Linked DNA regions of Homo sapiens: region 1 is linked to region 2. Evidence: promoter capture Hi-C in human tissues and cell types (Jung and others, 2019). All regions are on one chromosome and are shown on one strand. Each heading gives the region's core, a stretch centred on a gene start or on the middle of the fragment in contact. The rest is flanking DNA. Distances are from core to core; before and after follow the strand shown. Region 1 has its middle 220 kb from the start of UGT8. Region 2 holds the start of UGT8 (UDP glycosyltransferase 8).

Evidence for each region. Contacts are between HindIII fragments. The study calls those that stand out against the background at their distance.
Region 1: a fragment that was not itself captured here is called in contact with the fragment with the promoter of UGT8 in region 2 in 1 of the 25 tissues and cell types used here (heart left ventricle).

What each region holds. Positions count from the first base shown.
Region 1 is chr4:114,372,706-114,378,661 of GRCh38, forward strand. No RefSeq gene overlaps it. Among named protein-coding and RNA genes, the nearest start is that of UGT8, 220 kb to the right of the region's middle. The HindIII fragment of the contact is 4,313 bases long and covers 1,721-5,956 here.
Region 2 is chr4:114,594,349-114,600,787 of GRCh38, forward strand. UGT8 (UDP glycosyltransferase 8) reads left to right here and starts at 4,459. Exons shown (of 6, transcript NM_001128174.3): 1 at 4,459-4,626. The HindIII fragment of the contact is 5,100 bases long and covers 1,076-6,175 here.

The DNA of each region.
Region 1 (5,956 bases), core at 2,627-5,126, 220 kb before region 2:
TGCTTGAGCCCAGGAGTTTAAGGCCAGCCTGGGCTCCGTAGGGAGACCCCGTATCTACAAAAATAAACAATTAGTCGGGTGTGGTGGTGTACGCCTGTGGTCCCAGCTACTTGGAAGGCTGAGTCAGGAGAATCGCTTGGGTGAGGTCAAGGCTGCAACGAGCCATGATCGTGCCACTGCACTCCAGCCTGGGTGACAGAGCAAAAGCCTGTCTCAAAACAACAAAACATGTGAAAGGGATTGAGTTGTTAATTCTTCTGGAGAGTATTGAGGAAGACTTTGCATTAAAAGAATGTGAGATCTGAGTCTTGAAGATGAGTTGAATTTTGAAAGAAGAGTAACAATAAAGGGTTTTCTAGTTCTATATATTCTATATAATATGTATATATAACATGTATATATTTTTGTTGCTTGTATATATGCAAAGGAATGAAAATAGCATCTTCATGGAACAATGAGAAATTTAGTGGTTTGAAAATTCAGCAGGCTTATGAAGAACATTTGTGGGGAATAGATTGAAAAAGTAGACTTAGGGTTCAGATTGTGGGATTATTCTGAATGTCATATTACTTTTGGACTTTATTTTATGGGTCATGAAAAAATACTGACATTTTTAAGTATGAGGACAAGATTTGTGGGTGACAAGCAGTTTGTCTTTCAGCAGTTCAGTCAACGACTGACTGGGTAAGGACGGGGTAAGGAGATGAGGATAATCTAAAAAGAGACAGACTGAGCTGGTTGCTCTGTTAATAAGGAGAAGAGGAAATATAATTAAGAGGGTTTCAGAAAAGTGATCAGTACAACTTGTTGAAATACTGTACATAAGAGAAAAAAGAATCACAGATAACTGTGGGACATGATAGACTAGATATCTTGGGTAAATGGTGATGTCATTTAGTGAGATAAAAAACTAGCAGGAGGAACACATTGGCAAGAGTTATTAAGTAGTGTTCTGTTCAGGTGTAGTTATCTAGTAGAAAGTGACTTTTTAAAAATGGAACTGTTCTGGGTGCTGAAAAATCTATGGTATAGCTCTATGACTGGATTTCTGAAGCATAGTAGAGACGTAGGTTTCAGAGTAAAGATATAAATAGTAAATTCATTAATTTTTATAAGGTAATATCAAGGTGTTAGCTGGAAATAGAGTAACATTTTTTTCCTGGACAATAATTTTTTAAAATTTCACCCTCAAATCACACCCTCTAAATTGGTGGTTCTCATAGCACGGTCATTAGAGCAGCAGCAATTTGGAAGTTGTTAAAAATATAACATATTATACCCCAACCATTACCTAATACATTAGAAACTGGACATCGAGGTCCCAAATCTGTGTTTTCACAAGCTCATCAAGTGATTCTGATTCATACTTGGTGGCACATTGTAATCACCTGGGAACTTTAAAAATACAGTGATGGCTGGACTCACCTCCAATAATTCTGATGTAATCAGGTGTATGGCCTAGGCATCAGGACTGGAAATTTCAGAAGTTTCCCAAGGTAATTGTAATGTGCAAATAGGGCTAGAACCACTGCATTAAAGATTAACAACAAAAAAACAAAATCAAGAGGATTATTTCTCAAACGTTAAAGTGAAAAACCAAAGGGACATTTCTGTTTGTCAAATAAGTTTTATTTTGTGTTTAATTGGCTTGTAATAATTGTATGACTTATGGGGTACACTGTGATGTTTATATATATGTGTATGTGTATATATATATAAACATATATATACATTGTATCAGGGTAGTAAGCAATATCCGTCACCTCAGCCTCTTGTCATTTCTTTGTTGTGAGAACACTCAAAGTCATCTCTTTTAGCTATTTTAAAGTATACAATACATTACTTTTTTATTGTTATCACTCTACTGTGCAATAGAACACCAGAACTTATTCCTTCTATCTAACTGTAATTTTGTTTTAACTAATTTATTTCTATACCCTCACTCTGCACTCTCCCCAGTCCCTGGTAACCACTATTCTACTCTCTACTCCTATGACATCAAGTGTTTTAGATTCCACATATGAATGAGATCGTGCACTATTTATCCTTCTTTGTTTGCCTTATTTCACTTAACATAATGTCCTCTAGGTCCCCCATGTTTTTGTAAATGACAAGATTTTGTTATTTTTGTGGCTGAATAGTATCCCATCGTGTATCACATTTATTTAACACATTCATCTGTTGAGAAACACTTAGGTTGATTCCATATCTTGGGATTGTAAATAGCAGTGCAATAAACATGAAAATGCAGATGTCTTTTTGACATACTAATTCCATTTCCGTTGGCTATATACCCAGTAGTAAAATTATTGGATCATATGGTAGCTTCATTTTAAATTTTTTGAGGAACCTTTATACTGTTGTCCATAATGGCTATACTCCTTTACACCTCCATCAACACTGTGTAGGAGTTCTCCTTTCTCCACACCCTCACCAGCATTTGTTATTTTCTTGTCTTTTTTCATAGTAGCCATTAAAACTAGGTTGAAGTAATAGCTCATTGTGGTTTTGATTTGCATTTCTCTGATAATCAAAGATGTTGAGCATTTTTACATAACTGTTGGCCACTTGTATGACTTCTTTTGAGAAATGTCTATTTGTATCTCATGCTCATTTTTAAATCAGATTATTTGGCTTTTCACTATTGAGTTGTTTGAGTTCCTTATATATTCTGGATATTAGCCCTTGTCGGATGCATATTTTGTAAATATTTTCTCCCATTCTGCATGTTGTCTCTTGACGCTTTGATTATTTCCTTTGCTGTGTAGGAGCTTTTATTTTGATATAATCCCATTTGTCTATTTTTGCGTTTCTGTCCCTATGATTTTGAGGTCTTATTAAGCACTTTTATCCAAAGCAATGTCATGAAGTGTTTTCCCTGTTTTCTTTGAGTAGTTTTATAGTTTTGGGTCTTATATTTAAGTCTTTAATCAATTTTCAATTGATTTTTGTGGTGAGAGATATATGTCTAGCTTTGTTCTTTTAGATATGGATGTGCAGTTTTCTCAGCATCATTTATTGAGAAGACCATCCTTTCCCCAATGTGTGTTTTTTGCACCTATGTTGAAAATCAGTTTGCTATAAATGCACAAATCAGTAGTGTTTCTACATGCCAACAGCAGGCTATCTGAAAAAGAAATCAAGACAGCAATGCAACTAGCAATGGCTACAAAACAAGAAATGGCTAGGGATAAATTTAACCGAGAGGGTAAAAGAGCTCCTCAAAGAAAATTTTAAAATGTTGATGAAATAAATTGAAAAGAACACAAATAAATTGAAAGATAAATTTCATGTTCATGGACTGGAATAATTAATATTGTTAAAATGTTCATATTACCGAAAGTAATCTACAGATTCAGTGCAATCCCCATTAAAATATCAATGATATTTTTCACAGAAATTGAAAAAGAAATCTAATGTGTATATGGAATCACAAAGACCTGAAATAGCCAAAACAAACTTGAACAACAACAACAAAAAAGAACAAAACTGGAGGCAGCACACTACTGACTTTAAAATATTAAATAATTATTATTAATATCGCTTTATTATATTATGTATTAATATTACCTGAAAACATTATTATTAAAATATTATTATCATTACTACAAAGCAAAAATAACCAAAATAGTATGGTATTGGTATAAAAACAGAGACAACAGAACAGAATAGAGGACCCAGAAATAAATCCATCCTATTTTTATTAAGATAAAAATACATATTCTGATACAGAATGTCAGAGGTGTGGCTTAAGAGTCTGCATTTCTAGTCAGCAACTCTTGATCATAGACCACACTTTAAACAGCAAAGCTCTAGGGCACCCTAGTCAGGCATGTATGTCATATCTTCCATAGATGTGAAGAAACAACGGATTGGCTGGGGGATGACTTTTCTGGGATTTTAATTAGCTGCTCAAGAGAAAATATCAGAGATGAGAGTGGGAGCCAAACAAACTTACAAACATACTCAACTTTTAGAAAAGTTTTTGGATTAAAATTATATCCTAAAAGAGTGCTTCAAAAAATTCATTCTTTAAAATAAAATACTGGACTAAACTTATCTGAAGTGTTGAGAGTTAAATTTTTGCAGGTAGGTCCCAAGGGAATCTTGATTATTTTATGCCTGATTACGTTTTACTGGAGAGGTCGTGGGTCTAAGGTTTGAATGTGTCCTACAAAGTTCATGTGTTGGAAACTTAATCCCCAATGCAACAATGTTGAGTGAGACGTGGGACCTTTAAGAGGTGATTAAGTAATGAGAACTCTGCCTTCATGAATAGATTAACGCAATTATTAAGGGAATGAGTTTGTTATGTTGGGAGTGGGTTCCTGATTTTTTAAAAAATGAGTTCAGCACCATTCCTCTCTCTCTCTCTCTCACACACACACACATACACATACACACACACACGCCTTCTTGCTCTTCTGCATTCTACCATGAGATGATGCCACGTCACGAGATGATGAAGGCCCTAGCCAGATGAAGGCCCCTTGACCTTGGACTTTCCAGCCTTTAGAACTATAAGCGATAAATTTCATTTTTTTTTTTTTTGAGATGGAGTCTCGCTCTGTCGCCCAGGCTGGAGTGCAGTGGCGCAATCTCGGCTCACTGCAACTTCCGCCTCCTGAGTTCAGGCAATTATCTGCCTCAGCCTCCCGAGTAGCTGGGATTACAGGCATCCAACACCATGTCCGGCTAATTTTTTGTATTTTTAGTAAAGACAAGGTTTCACCATCTCAGCCAGGCTGGTCTTGAACTCCTGACCTCGTGATCCACCCGCCTCGGCCTCCCAAAGTGCTGGGATTACTGGCGTGAGCCACCACACATGGCCTCTATTCTTTATAAATTACCCAGCTTCAAGTGTTCTGTTATATAGCAACATAAAATGGATTAAGACACCAGTGTAACTTTGACAGCCTTATTAGGCATTATTCCAGAAGAAATAACCCACATGGGTTCTTATTAATCTACTCATTGGTCAATGGGAAAGTATTTTCTATTTGTATGTCTTCACTTATTAGTGAAAGGCAACCTACACATTCAGAACTTTAACACTTTTTTGGGAGAAAGTATCCCCTAAAGAGATTATCTAGTTTTTTAAATCCTTTTTTTAAAATCATTTTCAAAGAAATGTCTCTTTGTGGTTTTAATGGAGGTTCAGTTTAAAATGTGGTAGTCAAAAGAAACCAATTTAGCTGCTTTCTTTGACCAGTGACAACAGTCTAATCATCGCTTGCTTAATTGGCTCTGCAATTTCCTAATTAGCATAGGATTGGCCAGAGCCTGATGTGATAGCTTACCCTTTGGCTCTTAAATTCTAGCTTTTTCTTTATTAATCAAAAGGAAAATCATCATGCATGTTAAAATCATTAAAGAAGAACTCCTTTTATCAAACCTTTAGGCTTCTGAAGTTAGGAGACATCTCTTCTTGTAAATTACGTTCTAGACTTGTTAATTTTTAAGTGAGTGAACTAATCTTTGGTGGAAAATAGGTGAGGGATTAATTAATAGAAGGTGGTAAATGTTAAAGGAATATGGTTCAGAATGAAGTTAGGTACCATGCATTCCTGCTGAGTTAACCTAAAACATAAAGTCATCTTTTATTTTCCCAAGGAAAAGATCCAGAAAGAAGTTTTTTTCACTAACTTTACCATATTAACATCTAATTTTGTATATATAATTGTAAATACTATTTAAAAGGTAAACTGAAACACAATACTATTTTAAAAAATTTATTGCAGCTAACAATGATTCATTAACCGGGCGGCTCCAAACCAGAAGTGATCTGAGAGCTCCACCAAGTGAAATGCAACAGGGAAGCTTTTACAATCCTATCATTGAGGTAAAAGAAAATAAGACATTTGACTGATTACAGTTGTACAGTTGCTTTATTTGGTTTCTTTTCTTAGAAAGTTGCTAATTATAATATGTTAATTGGCTGCTTCTGATTGATTGA
Region 2 (6,439 bases), core at 3,209-5,708:
GACTTCATTCTGTGCATTCAAATAAATTTGTCCCCATGTTTATCGGAGGGACATCTGCATTGCTTGGGCATGACCTGACCTAAGATAGCCAACCTCATCCCCCTGGAATTCCTCCCTTGGGTTTTCAGGTAAGGGCTCTGACTTCTGTCTGCGTGGTGTTGCCTGAGGGATGCTTTCTTCTGAGTCTGAGCCTCCAGAGGCAGCCAGGGCAGCCTCCTGTCTAAGCCTTGCCAAGGATGGATAAATTGGTGCATAGGGGGTAGAGTTTCTAACTCTTCAGATGGGGCCTGTAGGACAGGTTTTTTCTGCTTTTCCTGTGACTCTTTTTCTTTTTCTGATGACTTGCAGTCTCTTTCTATTGTTCCTGGTTTTGTCCAAGCCATTAAAGTCTTATGGTAGGTCTCAAAGCAGGTCTGCAGCCACTTAGGGCGGGTCTGAATTACACTTAGCTGGGAGTCTGTATACGGGAACTGATCTGGGTGCCTGGGCTATTCTCCAAGCCCAGTGACCACCTGAAACACTTGGCCAATTATCTCCTTGTGTATTGTCCCCTCGGCCAGCCACCCTACATTAAAAGACAGCCGGTTTATCTCACAAAAGGTTCTCAGTTTCTGTGGAGTTAGCTTAACCATTTAATCACCATTTAAACCTTTTGTAAAAGTTTTTCAGCATGCACTCCAGTGGAGTAGGCTTTGATGCTTTTCCTCCCATTTCTTCCCTCACGGCATGCTTTCACTGTCACTTTCACTCTTGGATCCACCAGACCAGGTCCTATTATGGGAGGTTCGGATGCTGCTTAGCCAGGAGAGTGCCTTCATTCCTGTTACAGCTAGCTGCAGCCATGGTGGATGCTGCTTAGCCAGGAGAGTACCTTAATTCCTGTTACAGCTAGCTGCAGCCATACAGCTGGTCCTATGGGCTGTATGCAGTGTTCTAGGTCTGGTTTTTCCCACACTCGCCTCAGAGCACACAGTGCATGCTAAGAGATCTGTGCCTCCCCATGTCACACCCCGCATTGGTCTCTCCTGAGACTGTCTCACACACCTCCCCCGTCCCTGAAACTGTTTTCCTTTCTGACTGACGTGCGAGCCCCACCTGCATCTGGTGTCGGTTAGGGCGTGAGTTTTGTCTGAATCAATGGGCCTCTCCCATTGTCCCAACCCCCTCGGGTCAGATCAGTCATCATGCCCTGGGAGATGATCAGGCTCCCCTTCCGTCCTTATGGGACGGGTCTTGCCTTAGGGCCCAAACTTTACCGTGGTTCAGATGGCTGTGCGCTGCTCCCGTGACCATCCTGCAACCCCTTCCACTGGTTCCATTTGTGCTGTCGGGGGAAGGCCCCAGAACGCGGGAGGGCAGTTCTCCTTCTGGGCTGAAACTCTCCTGGTGGTGCCAAGGACCCCAGATCTCCCATGTCCTGGGGCTGTAGCCCACAGGCAAAGGAGACAGAAAATGTTCCCTCTCCAATCCCGGATGAGCCCCCAGAAATGTTACAAGACAATCAAAGACTGGAGAGACTGAAAAAGGTTCAGGAGAGTCTATTAAGGTGATCACCGGCCCAGCCGGACATATGTCCAGAAAGTATGAGCCCCAAACTAAGGGCTTTTCCTACTTTTAAACATTTTAAGGCAGGAACTACATGAGGTGGGAAGCAAGTTACAGAAGCGAGAAACAAAGGCAGTTAATCAAGCATTACAACATTTCTTACATCTTGAGAAAAACATGTCTTGCAACCTAAACTTATTGGTCTTGTGACTGCAGCTGTGCAGGAGCTTGCTGGCCTGTAATAAACTTGAGTAATTTGGAGTTGGGGAGTATAGATAAGGTCCACTGTCCACAGAGACAGGACAGGCTGTTAACATTCTCCTTTAACTTGAGTGTAAGGGGGCAGGGATCACACTTTGCAGAAACTTTAAGAGGATTTTAAAATTTCTATTACTACTACTATTAAGTTACGTTTGATTTCATTAATTTCTTCTTCAAATTCTAGGAAGTCTGATCCCAGAGTTAATGGTGAATGATTACAAAACTTATATAATATCTCACATATGGTTGTTTATATTTTCCAATAAAGTTATATGGGGTGAATAATTATAACAAGTATTTCTGAAAAAAATAACAATTGAGAATACTGATATATATAGTCCACAGAAATAATGAGGGAATTTTAATACCATACTCCACATTGGCTGAAACTTTCTCACTGCAGGCTATGCTGTCCCATTCAACATTCTATAAACTAAAGATGATAGGGAGAATCTTGTTTAATCTGAATGGGAGCTTGAAGGATACATTAAATATGGAAAATATGCATCCTTCCTTAAAGAGAAGTAGCAAATGTTTTCATTATTCATTTATTCAACCACTTAGCCAATAATGTTAACAATTAAAGGTGGGAGCATTAAAAAAAGGAAAAGTGGGGTGGGGCGGTGAAATGAACCTCACTGATTTCTTGCTTTTATCATTTCAAACTCCAAAAGTGTATTTCAACTATTCATATGATGATTGAATAAACTTGTTTTACATTATGGAACACCCTTACTGTGTAGAGCTGTGAGAAATTCAATAATCAGTATTTAATGTGGACAAAAATAGATAGATTAGAGAAACAATAAACATGGACATATCTACACATAATATATACTCCTTTTCTATCCAAAAATCTGACAAAAACCTTACACAATGGTCAGTTTACACCATTTTAAGGACAAGGATGTGGTGAAACAATTTTAAACATTTTTATATAATAAAAGAAAAAAGTTGTTTTAATTGCTAATGATCAAGTTTTTACCAAGAATTTACATATGCATCATCAAACAGTAGCTTGAAACTGAAGCTTGACCTTTGAGAAATAAAGCTTTTAAAGTAAATGTCTAAATTCTCTTTTCTTTATTATGTTACATTTCATTTACTTTAGGTTTTCTAGTGCAATTTAAATAAGAAATAAATAGAGAGTATGGTAATCAGGTACAAAGGCTGTGAAAATATTCCCTGCATTTTGCACAGGGAATATGTTCAAATTCCTAATCTGCAAAGAAGAAAAGTGCATTTTCTTTTTTGAAATGGCATTTGAAGATCTCTCCATCCATGAACATTCTTGAGCATATGGATTTTACAATAACAGCAGTGTATATTAGTTTTTTAATTTATCATTAACTGATAACATATACAGTAAAATATAATTTCCGTTTTCTTATCTAAGGGCAGAAAATCCCAACCTATTTCTGAATCTCACTTTGGAACAAGGACAGAATGACCTGACATGGCATTTTTGATTTCCAACGTTTAAACGCATAACGTTTGTGTGCTATGGAAGCATCTTAGCTTCTGGAATTTATGCTCGACACGAAACATAAACAATAAACAATTCAGTCCACGTTATATAGACATATCTCATATATATATGAGATATATATATATAAAATATCTTACGCACATGCACACTTAGACTTTCTCGGTTTTCATGAAACTCACAATCTACCTCAGGCGCTCAAAGGCACTCGGCCTCTCAGGTCTGAGGCACCACAGAGAGGCTTCCTTGGGCACAGTTGCTTGCTGGTCAAGACGCCAACTTGGCAAGGTTATGCTGCTGGCAAAGGCAGATTCGTCAGAATAAAGTCGCCACAGGCTCAACCAGGCAAATCATGAATGGCCCTTTCAGCAGGAGCCTGAGAGGAGGGATGTTATTCAGCCCAGCAACCCTATTTACTTTTTTTCAGGATCCCCAAACTCGCGTTTTTTAAGGCTTTCCGCTACAAGAGAGCCAGAATTGAAGCCTGGGTTGGCGGCAGTGCAGGTACCTGCTCACCTAAGCATCCCTCTTTTAATTTTCCTAACTCCTCCACCCACTTGCCCAAGTATAACTTTTGAATGGATTCAGCAGAAGTGAGGCAGGAAAGGCAGGAAGATGAGAAAAGGCGCGACATCAACACGCAGAGCTCACTGAGCCGCCTTGATGATAAAAGGCGGGCACAGGGACTACGTGGGTGGTGGCAGAAAGGGCGCGGGACACGCCTCGCAAAGAGGGAAGAGTGGGCGGGGCCACGTGCCGTTGTCAGAGTTCGCAACTCGAGCGCCCAGAGGGCTCGCGAAAAGTCCCAGCCTGCAAGCCAACCTCGCTCAGCGGACGACTGGCCGGATCCCAACGCGCTGCCCCTTGCCCAGCCTGCGAGCGCGTGGTACGAAGGCGCGTCTGCATCCATGCCCCAGCCCGGGGAGCTGGAGGCGCTCGCAGTCAGAGGCGAGTGATGCTAGGCTGAGCGCGTGGCGGCCCGTGTCGTGCCCCGCTGAGCCAAGTGCGGAAGGGCAGCGGCGCGCTCCGACTCTGCTCGCCGCACGCAGGGCGGGGCGCGGCTGGGGGGCGGGGGGCCTGGCCGCCCGCTGGGAGCTGCGGACGAGCAGGCGCGCTGAGGACCCGAGGGAGGACACGGTTAAAGCATTGCTATCAACTGTGAACCCAGAGAGCCCTCCTTAGCCAACACGCTAACTCCGAAGCCTCCCTTACGCCCCCGAACCACCGAAGGCGGCGACACCTGATTCAGCGCACAAACACAGGTCCCTTCTGTCCCGGATACAATTACGCGGCAGACACACACTCAAACTCGCGCGGGGCAGCCAAGAGACGAGGTGAGCGGAGGGACCACGCCGTTCCAGAGGGCGGAAGGGGGGGCGGTCTGGGTGGAGGAGAGGGGCGTTGTTTGCTCCCTGAGGTGAGTGCCGGGCGAATGGCTGCTGTCCAGGGGCGGGGGGGTGGGAATTAGAAAGCACAGACAGGGTTGGGCTGAGGAAGTTAGAAGTGGTTAGTGGGGGTTGGCGGGGTAGGGAGAAAGGCTAGGGGTTGAGGGGGTGTGAAGGAGATCTTTTTAGGCTGGCCCCTCATAGCGCCCGCGATCCTGTTTCTGCCATATGGCATCCGTTCGAGGGTTCTCTCGCGTTTGTGCGCTCAAGGCAGAGGGAGGGTATAACGGGGAGGCGATTCGGCCGAGGACCTTGTACTTGACCCCTGAAGGGATGGGCACCGCGGAGCCCAGAGGCCAGAGCCAGCTGCCAGGGCAGGGATGGAGGTGGGGGACCAGGAGGAGCTTCGGGACCTCTTCAACTCCCCTTTACTCCGTCTTCCCCCTAAGGAGGAACAAGAGCGGGATGTGTTGGGGGTGGGGAATGTCTTGGGGCTGTACAAGCTCGCTGAGACTTTTCGGGGCCCGCCGTTTCCGCGTGCCCGCGCGACTCTCGACAATGGACAGTGTACAGTGGTGGCAGGGTTTCACGGGTCCCCGCGCCGATTTGGGAATGGTACGGGGTGCCCTTGCATTAGAGAAGCCTGTGCGGGCCCCCGGGATTAGAGAAGAGGTGAGCGCCTGCGGGCGGGGAGAGAAGGACGCGCTGCTGGCAAAAAGAAGGGCGCCTTCCATGGACTGGAGGAGCGGCGAGGGAGCCTGGTATGTGTGTTTTGGATTTGAAGGAGGCAAACCGCATCGGAGAGTGCAAGTAGATGCAGTGCGTCGGGGCAAAAGGACAATCTGAGGAGGTGGGCGGGGTACCCAATCTCTATATACAAGCTTTCTGGTTTAATTGAGGGTTTATAAAATTGAGTACGGTAAACCTGCCATTGTGCAGCACTTCCTTAGGAAAGGAATAGCCTCTGTACCTGTACCGCGAGTTCCCATCACCTTTCAGCATCTAGGCGGGGAGAGGAGAGAAGGTAGAGAACTTCTGAGAGAGTTCTGAGAACTAACGCGAATGGCTGGATTGCGCTAACTAGGCGTTCTTAGCAGGAAAATGTCGCCAAGGGAAGGAGTGGGTGGCGGTATCAAACCAGGCGTGCTCTGGAGAATCACCTTTATTATGAGCCAGTGTTAGCAGTGACGATAGAGTCTTTTATTTCTGGGGATCCTATTGGTAAAAATTAGAAAAAAACCACACTACTCCAAATACTCCAAAAATCTTCAGTCCCCTCAGGCTGTCACCTTGTACTACCAGTTTTTCAGTATCAATGACGTGAATGTTAGGGAGTTTGGCTAGATGCCAAATTGTTATCATTTCTGATAATTTCATGTTCAAAAACGTCTATATTCACTCAAAATTGGCGTGCTTCTGACATATCCCCAGAAAAAAATCACCACCATTTGAAGGAAGGATAGAAAGTGCCCTTTTTTCTTTTCTTTTTTAAAAACTTTTATTTTAGGTTTTGGGGTACATGTGAAGGGTTGTTACATAGGTAAACACATGTCACAGGGGTTTGTTTTACATATTATTTCATCACTCAGTTATTAAGCCCAGTACCCAATGGTTATCTTTAACCAATATTTTAATAGTGTTAAGAGTAACCATACTTTGTCCCCAGGAGATTTTAAAATTAGAGTCATGCATCTTAATATTATATGGTAAAGGAGACCAGAACTTTGTGTTACTTGAATTAAATCTTAGCCAGCTTAGTTTT